3 separate regions of the Homo sapiens genome follow, and regions 1 and 3 are each linked to region 2. Evidence: promoter capture Hi-C in human tissues and cell types (Jung and others, 2019). All regions are on one chromosome and are shown on one strand. The core of a region is centred on a gene start or on the middle of the fragment in contact, and the rest is flanking DNA. Distances in the headings are between cores, read along the strand shown.

Region 1 (3,923 bases), core at 1,301-3,800, 190 kb after region 2:
TCCTCAAATGTCGCCTCCCCTGACCCCTAACTCCTTTCCTCCTGTTTTCTTCCTAGTGGTCATCCTGTCTCACTCGCTGTCCCACATCCCTGTGAGCTTCATGTCTCCCACCAGTGTGAGCACCTGCCCTCCAGGGCCGGAAGTTCGTCTTGGTTATAGCCCTGGTGCCCAGAACACTGCCCTGCCCACAGTAGGTGCTCAGTAAATGTCTTGAATCAACGGCAGGCATCTGTCTGGGGCATCTGGCCCCAGTGAAGAAGGAATTAGTGAAATCAGCTCTAACCTAATAGTAGTAGTCATAGAAATTTTAAAATCCTCTTAAAGTTGCTGCAAAGTGTGACCCCCACCCTTACACTCAAGTTAAAAGAGAATGTTAACAGCCTGTCTTCTCTCTGTAGTCAGTGGACCTTATCTATACTCTCCAACTCCACATTCCTCAGTTTATTACAGGCCCAGCGAGTTCCTGCTTACCTCCCTAGCACGGCTGCAGGGTCACAAAACCGATAAGTTTAGGTTGTAAGACATGTTTTTCTCAAGATGTGAGAAATGTTGGCCAGGCACGGTGGCTCACGCCTGTAATCCCAGCACTTTGGGAGGCCGAGGTGGGAGGATCACAAGGTCAAGAGATTGAGGCCATCCTGGCCAACATGGTGAAACCCCATCTCTACTAAAAATACAAAAATTAGCGGGACGTGGTGGTACACGTCTGTAGTCCCAGCTACTCGGGAGTCTGAGGCAGGAGAATCGCTTGAACCTGGGAGGTGGAGGTTGCGGTGAGCCAAGATGGCGCCACTGCACTCCAGCCTGGGCGACAGAGCGAGACTCCGTCTCAAAAAAAAAAAAAAGAAAAAGAAAAAAGAAATGCTGTAATGCTTAACTGCCTTTGTTTCTCGCCTCTGTAACTTGCTTCCCGCCTCACGTAGTTCCCGCCTTACGATGTTTAAAAATAGGAAAAGCCCTTTGTTCGAGGCTCAGACTTTCTGGATGTATGTCCAGCTGAGCCGGTGATCACCTTGATAAACTCTCCTGAACCTTTTTCGGTCTCTCCACTCTTTGTCCCACAACACCAGGACCCTCTGGTCTCCCTCCCTGCAGCAGCAGCGCCTGTTTACATGTGGCCAAATACTGTGCCCAACATTTAACACAACTGACATTTGTTTTTTTCTTTTCTTTCTTTCTTTCTTCCTTTTTTTTTTTTTTTTGAGACGGAGTCTCGCTCTGTCGCCCGGGCTGGAGTGCAGTGGCGGGATCTCGGCTCACTGCAAGCTCCGCCTCCCGGGTTCACGCCATTCTCCTGCCTCAGCCTCCCAAGTAGCTGGGACTACAGGCGTCCGCCACTATGCCCGGCTAATTTTTTGTATTTTTAGTAGAGACGGGGTTTCACCGTTTTAGCCGGGATGGTCTCGATCTCCTGACCTCGTGATCCACCCGCCTCGGCCTCCCAAAGTGCTGGGATTACAGGCGTGAGCCACCGCGCCCGGCCCTCTTTCTTTTTTTGAGACAGTGTCTCACTCTGTTGTCAGGCTGGAGTGCAGTGGCACAATCTCAGCTCACAGCAACCTCCACCTCCCGGGTTCAAGCGATTCTCCTGCCTCAGCCTCCTGAGCTGCTGGGATTACAGGCGTGTGTTACCACACCCAGCTAATTTTTGTATTTTTAGTAGAGACGGGGTTTCACCATGTCGGCCAGGATGGTCTGGATCTCGAGTGACCTCGTGGTCCGCCCACCTCGGCCTCCCAAAGTGCTGGGATTACAGGTGTGAGCCACTGCGCCCAGTCTGTGCTGAACATTTAACACAGCTGACATTGCATTTTTTCTTTTTTTTTTTTTTTTGAGACAGGGTCTCACTGTGTTGTGCAGGCTGGAGAGCAGTGGTACAATCAGGGCTCACAGCAGCCTCCACCTCCTGGGCTCAAGCGATCCTCCTGCCTCAGCCTCCCAAACTGCTGGGATTACAGGTGACAGTTGCTGCTCGGGGCCAGTGGTGGTATTTCTCTCCCCACAATCCCACAGGCAAGGCCCCACAGTCAGCCTGAGGGTCAAATACGACCTGCTGCCTGCTTTTGTAAATAAAGCTTTATCGGAACATAACCACATCAGTCCGCTGACATGTGGCCTGTGGCAGCTTCCGACCAGAACCGTAGAGCTGAATGTCAGGATGGAGGCTGCCACGCAAAGCTGAAATGTTCACTATCTGGCCCCTTACAGAAGAAGGCTGTCAGCCCTGCTGCCGGCTCTGGGGTGGGTTCGATTCCCTGCCCCAGTGAGGAGCCTGAGGCCTTACTACGTGCCACTCGTGTGCTGGTAGTGTGACACACACTCCCGTGGAGGGCACCAGGGAGTGGCCAGGGAGCACCGTGGCCAGCGTGGGGGCCGCTGCAGGACCCTGGGTGGGCTGCTTAACCCCCTGGCCTCACTCCCCCCATCAGTTCCCGGCCAGGCCTCATGCTAGTGGCCTGTTACTTCCTCTGGGACATATAGGGAAACTGAGGCTCAGGGCAGCCCCATGGTCTGGCCAAGGGTCCCAGAGAGGAAGTGGCCAACCTCAGGGCTTACGCTTTTCCCTTCTGGGAGCTCAGCTTCATGGTGAGGAGGGCAGCCTTCCCTCCGGCATGACCTGGGCACACGACTTCACCTTTCTGTGGGCCACCTGTGGTAGGTGCCGGGGAAGTGCTAAGCCAGCATGCAGTAGGTGCTCAGTAAATGCAGGGTTGGTGTGCAGCAGGTGCTCAGTAATGCAGGGCTGGTACACAGTAGGTGCTCAGTGATGCTGGGCCAGAATGCAATAGGTGCTCAGTAAATGTGGGGCTGGTGTGCAATAGGTACTCAGTAATGCTGGGGCGGTGTGCAGTGGGTGCTCAGTAAATGCTGGGCCAGTAAGCAATAGGTGCTTAGTAAACGTGGGGTCGGTGTGCAGTGGGTGCTCAGTAATACAGGGCCGGTGTAGAGTAGGTGCTCAGTGAATGCAGGGCCAGTACACGGTAGGTACTCAGTAATGCTGGGGCGGTGTGCAGTGGGAGTGAAGTAAATGCTGGGCCAGCATGCAATAGGTGCTCAGTAAATGTAGGGTCAGTGTGCAGTGGGTGCTCAGTAATACAGGGCTGGTGTACAGTAGGTGCTTAGTGAATGCAGGGCTGGTACATAGTAGGTGCTCAGCAAATGTGGGGCCAGTGTGCAGTGGGTGCTCAGTAATGCTGGGTCTGTGTACAGTGGGTGCTCAGTAAATGCTGGGCCAGCATGCAATAGGTGCTCAGTAAATGTGGGGCCGGGGCAGGTTGGTGTGCAGCAGGTGCTCAGTAATGCAGGACTAGTGCACAGTAGGTGCTCAGTAATGCTGGGGTTGTGTGCAGTGGGTGCTCACTAAATGCTGGGCCAGGATGCAATAGGTGCTCAGTAAATGTGGGGCCAGTGTGCAGTAGGTGCTCAGTAAATGTGGGGCTGGTGTGCAGTAGGTACTCAGTAATGCTGGGCTGGTGTGCAGTAGGTACTCAGTAATGCTGGGCTGGTGTGCAGTAGGTACTCAGTAATGCTGGGCTGGTGTGCAGTAGGTACTCAGTAATGCAGGGCCAGTATGCAGTAGGTGCTCAGTAATGCTGGGCTGGTGTGCAGTAGGTGTTCAGTAATGCAGGGCCGGCATGCAGTAGGTGCTCAGTAAATGCTGGGCGGGTGCACAGTAGGTGCTCAGTAATGCTGGGCCGGTGCACGGTGGGTGCCTGGTGAACACGTGCCTCCCTGGTCATCACTGCTGCTCAGTTCAGGGCTTAGGGATGGACGTGCCATCTCAGCGAGCTCGAGGGTCAAAGCTCTGCTATGGAGGAGGAAACTGAGGCCCAGAGGCAGGAGGGCAGCGACCTGCAATTCAACTCTAGGCCCATCTGGCTGTACGCTCCTTTTCCCTCCCAAGTAGTAAAGGCCCCATTTGT
Region 2 (4,050 bases), core at 1,196-3,695:
AGCCTTGCCTGTACCCAGGACAGGGCTGTGGGTGCTGGAGAATGGCTGCTCCAGGCCAAAATATCTTTATTTTACCAGCCAGACCATGTGTCACGCAGGGGCCACACAAACCCTCCCAGAGCACAGAGATTCTCTCCGAAGCAGAGATTCTCCCCAGCTCCTTCCTGGACGTTCTCCTCACCTTGGCAGCATCGGCCCTGTGGTTAGCAACCCGCTAGTTCTCCTTAAATCCTCACATTAACAAAAAATAACCTGTTCTTGAATGACATTTAAAATTCTTTAAATTCTTAAATTCATTTGTGAAACTTTCCAGCGAGACGGGCACCACCACAAACCACAGCCAGCTCCCGTGTCTTCGACTGGAAAATCTGTGGAAACGGGAGGAGGCAAGCGATCACGTTCTAGCGGACGGGGCCTTCGTGCCTGAAGCCCGCCGGGGAGAAGAACGAGGGGGCAGGTGTCCAAGGCCGGGCGGCACCAGATGGGCCTGTCCCCACCCATTGTCAGCCCGGGAACCGGGGAGAGAGTCGTCCTCGAATGGCGGCTCACAGCAGCCGGTTAACACTGGGTGCCTGTCCCATGTCTGCATCCCCAAAAGCAATGATGACCCAATGGGGGACCTGTGGGCCACCCTCTGACCCAGGACGGAGAAACCGTGGAGCAGAGCAGGAGGCACCGAGGCCCCCCGGCCCCAGGTGCTGTGTGATGGAGGGGGGGTGGGGGGGGGGCAGCAGCTCCTCTCTGGGCCTCAGTATCCCCCGTGGGAAAGGAAGGGGTGGCAGGAAGGAAACAATGGGCCCGACCCGGAGTGTTCGCTGACACCCCTCCTCTGGGAGGGAGATCTCCGTCGTCCTCCTAGGCAGCCCCCTCCCCACAGCCACACCCTGCCCAGGCCTGGCTGTCAGAGGCCCAGAGGCTCCTCCGGGGCCTGGCGAGCAGGGCAGATAAACAAGGCTGGGGGGTGGGGGTGTGGAGCAGGCAAGTCTGGGCCCTGGCTCCCCTGAGCCCCTGGCTGAGCTCCCGGGGCGGGGTGACGGGGAGAGGGGTCAGGCCTTTGTCTGGGTTTTCAAAAGCAGAGGACACTGGGTGTCTCGCTTTCCCAGGGAGGGAGGGAGGCAGCGGCCCCCACCCAGCCGCGGGCGTGGCGGGTCACGGGTGAATCCCCGGGGAAAGTTGGCGGCTTAGAAAACACGCCCAGTGGGAAGGGCAGGGGGCCACAGGCGGCCTCCAGATCCGGTCTTCGGTCCTCGGGCTGGGGTGGGGACCCGGGCCTCAGCAGGGCAGCTGGCTCCCCTGTCCTGAAGTGGGCAGGTGGGTGACCCCAGGAGGAGCCTCCTGACCCCTGCCCGTGCAGTGCCCACCTGTGGGAGTGAGGGGCAGAGGGGCACCCGAGCACCGGGAGGAGGGGACCGGTGTCCGAAATGACCACGCGCCCTCGCTCGGTGCCTCCACTGGCCACCCCCCCCCCACACACACAGGCGCAGCCATGCGGGGGTCCAGGGATCCCAGCCCAGGGCCAGCCCACTCCTGTAGCTACACCAGTGGAGCCCCAGCTCCGAGACACTTCCCCGAGAGGGTATCCCACCCAGGCGCCCCGCTGGAAAACGCCGGTTCCTCTCCCTTCTCACACACCCCAGAGACCCGGGAAGCCGAGGGCAGCCCCTCTCCCTCCAGCGGTAACTCGGGACCTGCGCAGTGGCGGGGGGCTCAGGACACCCCTGGAGGCCCTTGGGAAGGGCGGGGGTGGGGGGCACCGGCCCGCGCGCGCGTCCAGGGCGCCAGGAGCCGTGCGCTCAGACTGGGGCGGGGGAAGGGTGCGTGAGCGCGAGGCCGGACCGGTGCAATCTGGGGAGGGGTCGCTCCATCTCCCCGGGGCCACCCACAGGTGGCCGAGAGCCGAGGCTCGCCCTGGAGACGCGGGCGGGGCGCGGGCGGAGACGCGAGCCTCCCCCTCCCCGCGTCCTGGACTGGCCCGAGCCGCCGCTGCCCGGGTCCCCACGCGCCGGTGGGTGGGCAGCCGGGGTCCGGGAGCGGGGAGGCCTCCCGGCAGGCGCGGCCCAGCCCGAGTCTCTTCCCGGCTGCGCTGCGGCCCCAGCAGCCCCGCGCCGCCTCCTGCTCCTCGCGGGGGCAGCGACGCCCCCAATGGGGCGCGAGAGAGGGGGCCTCCCCCCTCCCCGGCTCCCGGAGCTCCGGGCCCCCAGCCCCGCGGCCCGAGCGCGCCTACTCACTCCATCTCCCCGCCGAGGTCCGGGTGGGTCCGCGGTGCCGGGCGGGGGCGGGCGCGGGTGGCGCGCGGGGGAGGGGAGGGGAGGGGGACGCGGCCTGGCGGGGGCCGGGGCGGGCTAAGGCCTGGCGGCCGGGGCTGCGCGGCGCGGGGGCGGCGGCACCGGCTCGGGCATCGCCCCGCGCAAAGCTGCTGTTTATTGTCCGGGCGGCGGCGGGCGCGGGGGGTGGGCTGGGCGCGCGCGTCTCCGGCGCGCTCCCCTCTCCCTCCCGCCCGCCCCGCTCCCCGCCCCGCTCCCCTCCCACCTCCCCGCGCTGCGAGCGGGCGCTGCGCCTCCTGCCGGCTGCGCCGCCGCCGCCCCCCGCCCCGCGCGCCCCGCCCCGGGGCACCCCTGAGAAGGGCCTAGGTCTGGGCGCGGTGCTGGGACCCGGCTGTCACCAAGTCCCGCCCCTCCCCAGCTCCTGGGCCAGAGCCGGGACCCTCGCGAAGTCAGACAAGCAAAGGCCTTTCTCGAGAGCCCAGACGCCGAGAGGGACACACATTTCAGGGCGAGCGAGGGGATAGGGGGGTCCTGGGGAGGCCGCTGCGAGGAGCTGACAGCTCCCTGCACCCCCGGCCCCGCTCGCAGGGTCCCCAGGCCTCCTTTGCCGGAGTATCTGGTGGAGGGCGCTGTGCCTGCAAAGGCCGGGGGTTGGGGTGGAGACAACCGCAGGTGCTGATCTGTCTGTGCCCTGGCTGGGAGCTGAGCCTGGTCCCCGGGGCTGGAATTTAATCGGCCCCAGGGCCCCCATGGCACACTCACTAAAGGCCCAGCGACCAGACGACCAGAGTGAGTGAGAGGGACGGTGGAGAATCAGGGAGAGCTCAGGCTTTGTCCTCAGAGCACTGGGGAGCCACAGCAGGAGACAGGCAGGACCTGTCTTCCCCAACATGTAGGCCTTGGGCCCAGCTTCCTGGTTTCCCGTGAGAACACTGCAGACCAGCCCCAGCACACCTACTCATGGGGGTCCAGGGTGGGCAGGAAGGAAAGATTCTTCCAAACTTCTTAGTTTTCTTATAAAACGGTTCTCCTCTGCCGATGTTTGCTGAATGGCTGTAGATTTAAAGGAAAGTAGCCCCGGATGAGCTGTGGAGAAAGATACGGCAGGATGTACCCCAGGCTGAAGAAGGCCGTCAACACCTTTTCTTTATTCCTCCCTTTTTACAATGAATGTGTATTCATTTTAGCATTTAAGACAATAAGATAAATTAGCAAAGGTTAACAAAGCTAAGATCCTAAAGAATATCAGGGGTCCCGGGTCTGTCTGATTCCCAGCTCACCCATCTCCAAGCTGTGTGACCCTGGGTCTGTTTCTCAACCTCTCGGAGCCTTATTCCCCCCCACCCCCCTGCCCCCACCCTTAAGGCTGTGGGAGGGTTAACTGAGTGAGCACACACAAAGGGCTTGGCACAGGGCCCAGCACACACTAGCTCAGGGTTTGGCAAACTTTTTCTGTAAAGGGCCAGAGAGTAAATATTTTCAGCATTGCAGGCCACAGTCTCTGCGGCAATGACTCTGCTCTGCCATCGCAGAGTGAAAGTAGCCAGAGACAATATGTAAAACCATGGGCATGGCTCTGTGCCCATAAAACTTTATTTACAAAAACAGGCAGTGGGCCAGAGCTTATCCCAGGGCCGTAGTGTACTGACCCCTGCACTAGGCACCCAATAAAACTTTATTTACAAAAACAGGCAGAGGGCCAGAGCTGATCCGAGGGCCGTAGTGTACTGACCCCTGCACTAGGCACCCAATAAAACTGACCTGTGAGTCGTTTCTTCACTTCCCC
Region 3 (3,850 bases), core at 674-3,173, 200 kb before region 2:
TCAGGTCCATTCTTTGAGCATCTACCCTTACCCTGTGCCTGATGGATGGGGAAACCACTCATTCCCGATGCCCAGCTCCCCTGCCAGTCACTCCTGATACATCTCTCCATTGTCCTTTTTCACCTCTTTGCACATTTATCTACAGGAATCTCACAGTGCACGCTTTTTTGAGTCCATCCACAGTTTCTCATCCTTTTCTTTTTCCTCCTTACTCTTTCTTTCTTTTTCTTTCTTTCTTGCTTTTTTTTTTTGAGACAGCATCTCGCTCTGTCGCCCAGGCTGGAGTGCAATGGCACAATCTCGGCTCACTGCAAGCTCTGCCTCCTGGGTTCACTCCATTCTCCTGCCTCAGCCTCCTGAGTAGCAGGAACTACAGGCGCCTGCCACCATGCCCGGCTAATTTTTTGTATTTTTGGTAGAGATGGGGTTTCACCGTGTTAGCCAGGATGGTCACAATCTCCTGACCTCATGATCCACCCGCCTCGGCCTCCCAGAGTGCTGGGATTACAGGCGTGAGCCACTGTGCCTGGCTATTTTTTTTTTTTTTTTTTTTTTTTTTGAGACAGAGTAGTCTTACTCTGTGGCCCAGGCTGGAGTGAAGTGGACGGCTCCCTGCAACTTTTGCCTCCCATGTTCAAGCGATTCTTGTGCCTCAGCCTCCCATGTAGCTGGGACTATGGGTGCATACCACCACGCCCGGCTAATTTTTGTAGTTTTAGTAGAGATAGGGTTTTGCCATGTTGGCCAGGCTGGTCTCAAACTCCTGACCTCAAGTGATCCACTGGCCTTGGCCTCTCAAAGTGCTGGTATTACAGGTGCGAGCCACCGTGCCCAGCCTCCCTCTTGCTTTATTTTATTTTATTTTATTTTTTTGAGATGGAGTCTCGCTCCTCGCCCAGACTGGAGTGCAGTGGCACGATCTCGGCTCACTGCAAGCTCCGCCTCCCGGGTTCACGCCATTCTCCTGCCTCAGCCTCCCGAGTAGCTGGGACTACAGGCCCCCGCCACCACGCCCGGCTAATTTTTTGTATTTTTAGTAGAGAGGGGGTTTCACTGTGTTAGCCAGGATGGTCTCGATCTCCTGTCCTCGTGATCCGCCCACCTCGGCCTCCCAAAGTGCTGGGATTACAGGTGTGAGCCACCGCGCCCGGCCCTTTCTTTTTATTTTAGAGATGGGTTTTCATCATGTTGCCCAAGCTAGTCTCAGACACCTGGACTCAAGTGATCCACTGGCCTTGGCTTCCCAAAGTGCTGGGATTACAGGCGTGAGCCACCACGTTGGCCACCAGGCCTAATTTTAGAGAAGAGTAAACTGAGGCTAAGCAGGGGAAGGGGTTGCCTAGCCGAGGCTCCAGGGCTGGGAGGGGCAGGTGGAAGGAAGGCTCGGGCAGTTTTAATTTCCGCCATCCTCTGCCTCCAAGAAGAACGTCCCCTCCCTCGTCGATGCTCAGGCCTTAGTTTCCCTGTCCGTGTCTCCTCGCCTCCCTGGGCTGGATTCCTGGCTCAGTCCGCAGCCCGGATCGGGACGCAGGGTTGTGGTTGAGTTTTCGACCCCTCGCCTAGGTGTCCCTCCTTCCCGGAGCTAGATTTCTGGGTGTAGGGATCGTGGCCGGCCCCGCCTCCCGCCTCAGTCTCCCCGTTCGTCCCCCCAGGGGCTGGATCCCGGCCCCGCCTGCCTCGGTTTCCCCGTTCGTTCCCTGATGGCTGGATCCCGGCCCCGCCTGCCTCGGTTTCCCCGTTCGTTCCCTGTTGGCTGGATCCCCGCCCCGCGCGCCTCGGTTTCCCCGTTCGTCCCCCCAGGGGCTGGATCCCCTCCCCGCGCGCCTGGGTTTCCGCGTTCGTTCCCGGCAGCCGGGAGGTGGGCGCCCCCGCCCCGCCGCGCAGCCCCAGGCCCCGCCCCTGCCCGCCTCCGGGCGCCCGTCACTTCCTGCCCGGCCCGGTGAAGGCCCTGCCGGGCGGCGGCGGCGGCGACAGCGTGCGAGCCATGGTCGCGCTGGAGAACCCCGAGTGCGGCCCGGAGGCGGCGGAGGGCACCCCGGGCGGGCGGCGGCTGCTGTGAGCGCGGGCGGGCGGGGCGCGGCGGGCGCCGGGGGCGGGCTGGGCTCCCTCCCCTGAGATCCTCTCCCCGCCTCCCCTCCCCTCCTTTCCCTTCCCTCCCCTCGTTCCCTTCGTTCCCCTCGCTCCCGTTGCTCATCTTCCGGGGCTTCAGCCTGTCCTGCCTTCCCTTCTCGCCCGCTGTGGACCCCCAGGCTGGGTGGGGGGTCTTCATTGTTACTCAGCGGGGACACCCTCCTGGCGCTCCGGGGGCTCGCTGGGGGAGGGGACCCGGATCCACGTCCCCATTTACCTGTTCCGCCCCCTACTCCCCGGTCCGCCCCCTAATCCCCGGTCCGCGCCCCACTCCCCGGTCCGCCCCCCCACTGCACTGGTCCGCGCCTCCATTCCCGGGTCCACCCCCTCACTCTCCGGGTCCGCCCCCCAACTCCTCGGTCCGTGCCCCCACTCTCCGGTCCGCGCCCCCACTTCCCGGGTCCGACTCCCCCCACTCCCGGGTCCGCGCCCCCCCACTGCCCTGATCCACGCCCCCACTCCTGGGTCCGTCCCCCCACTCCCTGCTCCACCCCCCCACTCCCCTGGTTCTTGCCCCCATTCCTGGGTCCGCCCCGCAACTCCTCGGGTCAGCCCCCCAACTCCTCGGTTCCACCCCCCAACTCCCTGGTCCGTGCCCCTACTCTCTGGTCTTCGCCCCCACTCCCGGGTCCGCGCCCCCACTCCCGGGCCCGCCCCCCAACTCCTCTGTCCGACCCCCCCACTGCCCTGGCCCACGCCCCGACTCCCGGGTCTGTCCCCCCACTCCCCAGTCCGCCCCCCAACTCCCTGGTCCACCCCCCCCACCTCCCCGGGGCCGCGCCCCCACTCCCGGGTCTGTCCCCCCACTCCCCGGTCAGTCCCCCAACTCCCTGGTCCGCCCCCCACACTCCCGGGTCCGTCCCCCCACCTCCCCAGTCCGCCCCCCAACTCCCTGGTCCACCCCCCCCCCCACCTCCCCGGGGCCGCGCCCCCACTCCCGGGTCTGCCCCCCCACTCCCCGGGCCCCGAGGTGCCAGCCATGGAGCCTCCCGCCAGAGGGTCCTGGGCCCCTGTCCGCGGGTCGGGGTTCACCCACGTGGCCATGCGCTCCAGCCTGGTCCCTGCCGCACGCCCGGCCCCACTCGCCCTCTGGGCTTGTCCGCGCCCCCTGCCTTTCCGGGCAGACCCGGCTCCTTGCTCTCCTTTGGGTAAATCCCTACAACCCTTGTGGGTTAAAACCTGGCAAGCAGGAGCCCGCGCGTCCTTCCCGGGGGACCCGGAAGCGGGGCGGTCTGTGCGGGGGTCAGCCGTGTGTCACCCCGGCCCGCACAGGGACCCGGGGACCCAGGGTGCGCCCCTGGGGTCCGTGTTGGTGGAGGGCGAGGAGGCGGCGCGTGTTCCGTTCCTGCCTCCTCCGTGTGCGGACGGCGCCACCTGGGCAGGTTATTTCATGCTTCCATGCCTCAGTTTCCCCTTCTGTAAAATGGGATAGTAAGTGTGGCCTCTTCTCCGAGTGGTGGGGGTTACCGAGCTGGCACTGCGGCGGGCCCAGCAAACAGGAGTGTCCGTTGTCTCATTACTAATTATCGTTAATGTTTTATTGGTTATTTTAGTAGTATTAATATTTTGAGACGGAGTCTCGCTCTATCGCCCAGGCTGGAGTGCAGTGGCACGATCTTCATTCACTGCAACCTCCACCTCCTGGGTTCAAGCGATTCTCCTGCGGCAGCCTCCCCAGTACCTGGGATTACAGGCGCCCGCCACCACGTTCAGCTAATTG

What was found. The method cuts DNA at HindIII sites, captures the fragments that hold promoters and counts their contacts. A contact is called where the count stands out against the background at its distance.
Region 1: a fragment that was not itself captured here is called in contact with the fragment with the promoter of PALM in region 2 in 3 of the 25 tissues and cell types used here (IMR-90 fibroblasts, heart left ventricle and thymus).
Region 3: a contact is called between the fragment with the promoter of R3HDM4 here and the fragment with the promoter of PALM in region 2, in 6 of the 25 tissues and cell types used here (adrenal gland, dorsolateral prefrontal cortex, heart right ventricle and 3 more).

What each region holds. Positions count from the first base shown.
Region 1 is chr19:513,311-517,233 of GRCh38, reverse strand. All of the region lies in intron 1 of TPGS1 (tubulin polyglutamylase complex subunit 1), which reads right to left. Among named protein-coding and RNA genes, the nearest start is that of MADCAM1-AS1, 7.4 kb to the right of the region's middle. The HindIII fragment of the contact is 7,591 bases long and covers 1-3,923 here.
Region 2 is chr19:707,330-711,379 of GRCh38, reverse strand. PALM (paralemmin) reads right to left here and starts at 2,445. Exons shown (of 9, transcript NM_002579.3): 1 at 2,229-2,445. The coding sequence starts at 2,233. RefSeq lists a silencer at 3,199-3,435 and an enhancer at 2,888-3,448. The HindIII fragment of the contact is 30,523 bases long and covers 1-4,050 here.
Region 3 is chr19:911,292-915,141 of GRCh38, reverse strand. It overlaps R3HDM4 (R3H domain containing 4), which reads left to right and starts at 1,923. Exons shown (of 8, transcript NM_138774.4): 1 at 1,923-2,055. The coding sequence starts at 1,985. RefSeq lists a silencer at 1,766-2,105. The HindIII fragment of the contact is 36,901 bases long and covers 1-3,850 here.